2 separate regions of the Homo sapiens genome follow, and region 1 is linked to region 2. Evidence: promoter capture Hi-C in 16 types of primary human blood cells and fetal thymus (Javierre and others, 2016). All regions are on one chromosome and are shown on one strand. The core of a region is centred on a gene start or on the middle of the fragment in contact, and the rest is flanking DNA. Distances in the headings are between cores, read along the strand shown.

What was found. The method cuts DNA at HindIII sites, captures the fragments that hold promoters and counts their contacts. A CHiCAGO score of 5 or more calls a contact.
Region 1: a fragment that was not itself captured here is called in contact with the fragment with the promoter of TIFA in region 2 in 1 of 17 cell types (naive B cells); the score reaches 6.2 in naive B cells.

What each region holds. Positions count from the first base shown.
Region 1 is chr4:112,600,965-112,603,664 of GRCh38, reverse strand. ZGRF1 (zinc finger GRF-type containing 1) reads left to right here. Exons shown (of 28, transcript NM_018392.5): 10 at 1-141. Among named protein-coding and RNA genes, the nearest start is that of ZGRF1, 35 kb to the left of the region's middle. The HindIII fragment of the contact is 4,836 bases long and covers 1-2,700 here.
Region 2 is chr4:112,284,607-112,287,306 of GRCh38, reverse strand. TIFA (TRAF interacting protein with forkhead associated domain) reads left to right here and starts at 1,403. Exons shown (of 2, transcript NM_052864.3): 1 at 1,403-1,667. RefSeq lists a silencer at 1,351-1,660 and enhancers at 2,301-2,420, 2,451-2,630. The HindIII fragment of the contact is 2,980 bases long and covers 1-2,700 here.

The DNA of each region.
Region 1 (2,700 bases), core at 4-2,503, 320 kb before region 2:
TCAGCTACTAGTGGTGTAATGGTCAGAGGACACAGCTCACAGCTAGGATGCAGTCAGTTTCCAGATAGCACTGAGTATGAAAACTTTATGACAGAGACACCAGAGTTACCTAGCACGTGTATGCAGATTGACTTCTTGCAGGTAAAAATATTTTTATAGTTGCATTTTGCCAAATCATTTTCTTTATGTTAATACTACATTTTGTGAAAATAGTATAGTTGTTTATACAGTTATAAGTTAAAAAGGAGTACAGTAAATTGACAAGAAGCATAATATCTCAAAACTAAATAACAAAAGTATTTTACTTGAAAGATGTATTACTTTTTTAACATTGGGAGTTTAACAGATTACTTTTCACTTCAGAGAAGACTATAAATTCATGACAAAAGCAAACAGGTACATTACACAAAGAAAATACTCACCTGTTTAACATCTAATAGATTTTTTTTCTTCTGATATTTCCCTTCTCTCTTTAAATATGACACTGAGTACCTCTAGTTGCTACCAAAGGCAGATTTCTGGGGATGAAAATAGAGGTCATGAGGTTAGAATGATAAGCATGTATTTGAAACAGTGTTCATCAAAGAGATTTTTTTTTAAATTTCCCTTTTTGTCAAAGCATAATACATATGAGAAGAAATAAAGAAAAAAAAGCATAATACATATATGAAATAAGTAAATCATCACAAAGCATACTCATATAACCTCCACCTTTAACAAATAGAGCATTCTCAGCATCTCAGAAGCTCTCCTTCTGCCCCTTTTCAATCACTACCCTTTTCACTTTTCCCTAAGATATCCACTGTCTTGACTTATAACCATCTATTAGTTTTGCTTTTAAAACTTTATATAAATAGAATCATACACAGTGTATTCTTTGTGTCTGCCCTCTTTTGTTTAATATTGCAATTCTGAAATTCATTTATGTTGTTGCCTGTGGCTATAATTTATTCATTTTAATTGCTGGTGTAGTATTCTGTTGCATAAATATATCCCAATTTATCCATTCTTCAGATGTTTGTGTTATTTGTGTTAAGGGACTATTACAGATACTGCTGCTGTGAACATTCAAGTACCATCATGAACATGTACATATACACACATGCGTGACATACTTATGTTGGTTATATTACCTAGGAGTAGCATCATTGAGTCACTGGATAGGATATATTTACTTTTAGTACATAATGCAAAACTGATTTCCAAAGTGGTTTTTATAATTTACATTTCCATTAGGAGTGTATGAGAGTGCCCATCACTCTACATCTTTACCAACACTTGATGCTGTTTTTGGTTTTCAGTTTTAGCTATTCTGGTGGGTATATATTGGTACTTCAGTTGTAGTTTTAATTTGCATTTTCCTGCCTGATAGTGAGGTTGGGACCTTTTTTGTATGCCTATTGGCCATCTCTTTATCCTCTTTGATGTAGTGCCTGTTCAGCTTTCTTCCTTTTTTTTTTTGAGACAGAGTTTTGCTCTTGTTGCCCAGACTGGAGTGCAATGGCGTGATCTTGGCTCACTGCAACCTCTGCCTCCTGGGTTCAAGCGATTCTCCTGCCTCAGCCTCCCAAGTAGCTGGGATTACAGGCATGTGCCACTGAGCCCAGCTAATTTGTATTTTTAGTAGAGATGGGGTTTCTCCATGTTGGTCAGGCTGGTCTCGAACTCCTGACCTCAGGTGATCTGCCGGCCTCGTCCTCCCAAAGTGCTGGGATTACAGGCGTGAGCCACCATGCCTGGCCTCTTCCTCATTTTTTAATTGACGTGCTTATCTTTTAAAAAATTTTCTGGAATTCTTTATATAATTTGGATACCTACTCATTGTCAGTTGTATGCTTTGCAAATATCTTTCCTGACCCTTACTTACCTTTTCACTCTTAATGGTATCTTTGATGAATCAAAAATTTTTCTTTTTTTGTTGTTTTTTGAGACAGAGTCTTAACTCTGTCACCCAGGCTGGAGTGCAGTGCATGAACATGGCTCACTGCAGCCTCAACTTCTTGGACTCAAGCAATCCTCCTGCCTCAGACTCTCGAGTAGCTGGGACTACATGTGCCCACCACTATGCCCAGCTAATTTTTTTTTTTTTTTTAGACAAGGTCTTGCTCTGTCACCCAGTCTGGAGTGCAGTGGCGTGATCTCAGCTCACTGAAACCTCTGCCTCCTGGGTTCTAGCAATTCTCCTGCCTCAGCCTCCCGAGTAGCTGGGATTACAGACATGCGCCACCATGCCTGGCTAATTTCTTGTATTTTTAGTATGGTTGCATATACATTTAGAACTAGCTTAACAATTTGCTATGTTGGCCAGGTTGTTCTCAAACTCCTAGCCTCAAGTGATCTGCCTGCCTCGGCCTCCCAAAGTGCTGGGATTACAGGCATGAGCCACTACTCCCGGCTGCCCAGCTAATTTTTAAAATTTTTTTGAGATGTTGTTTCACCAGGTTGCTGCTGGTTTTGAACTCCTGGGCTCAAACGATCTTCCTGCCTCAGCCCCCCAAAGTGTTGGGATTATAGGTGTGAACCACCACGCCTGGCCTAGTTTATCATTTTTTTTTTTTTTTTGAGATGGAGTCTTGCTCTGTTGCCCAGGCTGGAGTGCAGTGGCGTGATTTTGCCTCACTGCAACCTCTGCTGTTGGGGTGATCAGACCCAACACCAGGTTGTAGGGGTGATGAAGTCTGGCAGAGTCAAAGGATTGAG
Region 2 (2,700 bases), core at 154-2,653:
TCTAATGCCTGATGATCTGTCACTGTCTCCCATCACCCCCAAATGTGTCCGTCTAGTTGCATGAAAACAAGCTCAGGACTTCCACTGATTCGACATTATGGTGAGTTGTATAATTATCTCATTATATATTACAATGCAATAATAATAGAAATAAAGTGCACAATAAATGAAATGGGCTTGAATCATCCTGAAACCATCTCCCGTGGCCCCAACCCCAGTCTGTGGAAAAAGTCTTCCATGACACTGGTTCCCAACAGGGATTGCTGGTCTCTACAGTGTCTATCCTCTCTCTCTCTTTTTCTTTAAACAGAGTCTCACTCTGTTGCCCAGACTGGCGTGCAATGGCGCCATCCCGGCCTCACTGCAACCTCTGCCTCCCGGATTCAAGTGATTCTCCTGCCTCAGCCTCCCGAGTAGTTGGGATTACAGGCACCCACCACCAAGCCCAACTAACTTTTGTATTTTTAGTAGAGATGGAATTTCGTCATGTTGGCCAGGCTGGTCTCAAACTCCTGGCCTCGTGATCCGCCCACCTCGGCCTCCCAAAGTGCTGGGATTACAGGTTTGAGCCACGGCACCCGGGTCTATCCTCTCTTGACACCTACTCTCCTTAGGTTCTTCACACTTAGGTGATTCCAAATCTTTTCACTGAGGCAGAAAGGTAGCATTACCTTCTTCTAAGCTATAAAGGACTCCTGAGAGGTGTTTCCCATTTCATCATGTACCAGCTTTTACTTGTGGACTCTGGATGTCCATTACGATGCAAGCGGCAGGAGAGAAAGCGACTGGACTGCTCTGCTGGGTGTAAGGCGAGGGCAACCTGGAGCAAGTTCAAATCCCGCCTCTGCGGGAGGCAGAGGTTGCAGTGAGCCGAGATGGCGCCACTGCACTCCAGCATGGGCGACACGGTGAGACTCGTCTCAAAAAAAGAAAAAAAGAAAAAAAAAATTCCACTTCTGCTCGCCACACTCCACCATTCTCTGAGCCTCGGTTTACTCATGTGTAAGGGGGACTGCGATGATTAGAGGAGCTCGTGCATGCCACGCACTGGCTTGCTTGGTATCCTTGGAGTCACCGAAAGATTAGTTCAGCTCCCCGCCTGCCCACGCCCTGGGGCAACACTCATTTTGGGGAAAAGTCCTCCTTAATGCTGAAGTGATCCAGTTCCCTTCTTTTCTCTAGCTCGCCAATCGGGCTGGAGGAGAGGCCACTCGTTTGGGAAGGCGCGGTCCGGGTCGGTGTACCGCGCACCAAACCCTGCCAGAGAACTGAGAGAGGCGGCCAGGGGGCTGGGTACCTGGTGAGAAAGGCGCCAGCTGCCGGGTCACCTCGAGAGGAAGGAAGGGGCGGGAGCGCGAGTGGAGCGGGCGGAGCCTGAAAACCTCCGCGCCACCGCTGCGCTCTTTACAAAGGCCCCGGGCGCGAGAGGACGTGCTCTGCCAGCCAGTGGGAAGGCAGGCCGCGCGCGCGGGAGCGCGGGAGGATCGGCGGCTCGCGGTCACTGGTCCCTGGCTCGGTTCCCCGCACCCCGGGGCTCACACTTACCCGCGCGGAGGAGCAGCGGCCGGGTGTCCACCCCCATCCTGCGCCCAGTCTCCTCGATTCCCCTCGCTCTGAGCCGGGAGAGCCGAACAGCTGAAGAGAGTTCACTGACTCCCCAGCCCCAGGTACTTGCGGGGCGGCGGGCTGGGGGTGAGGTGGGGACTGGCCCTTTTCTGTTTATCCCGCAAAGACAGCAGCTTTGTCCAGGAGATTTTGGGGGTGTCGGATCGGAAGTCATCCCCCGCTGCTCCTGCTCACCTGGCACACGCTCACCATATGCTAAGGAAAGCCTGCAAAAATTATAGACAGCACCTCCCTGTTTTATAAAATATGAGAATATTTACATAAATGAGGAAACATTGGAGATGGGGGTGTGTTTTCTCTGTACTTTGGTATTCTTTTCAACGTTTTTCTAATCAGAAAACAAAAACGAATGCCATTTATGCAGTGTGGCTCCAGAGCAGTTGTGCGTGACCCCCCTCCCCCGCTTGCCAACTGCTACGGCCCCACGCTCTCGGTGGCCAAGCGAGACCTTTCTGAGGGGCCCTGGGCTCCCTGGAGTGCCGAGGTCCTTGGTCCTAGACCTGACTCCTTGCTTCAGTCTGGTTCATGAGAGAAATATAGTAATCCGTTGTTTTCTGGGACTTTCCCCAGATTTCAGATTGAAAGGTGGAATTTCCCAAATCCTCTGAAGCCAAAATCCACACTGAGCCTCACTGCGGATTTCCGCAGCCACCAGGAAGTGGGACTGGACCCCAGGTCAGGCCAGTCAAGTAGAGTGGGAGAAAGAAAATCTCATGTCTGAAAGACACCGAGCTTTCCTAAGGGTTTCCTCCTGCTGTTTGGTTTTCACTTTTTTTTTTTTTTTTTGATTCTTTGTTTTTGCAAGACCTGTGGTTTTAGTATTAATTCTGCCAAACAGCTGTGCCAGAGTTCACAAATATCTTCAGAGCCACACTTCAGGGTGATCCTGTTGAGCAGGGTTAGACAGGAGGATAACTTGGTCCTTTGCTCTGCTTCCAAGTTTCTGTTCCCCTCCTGTGTGCTCAGTGTTCGGTATTCGTTAGGGAGAAAAGCCTTGAAACTTCCTACTTGCAACCACCCAAAGACATACTCTTTCTTGAGAATATATTCAGGGGGAACTGGGGAGGCGAGGGG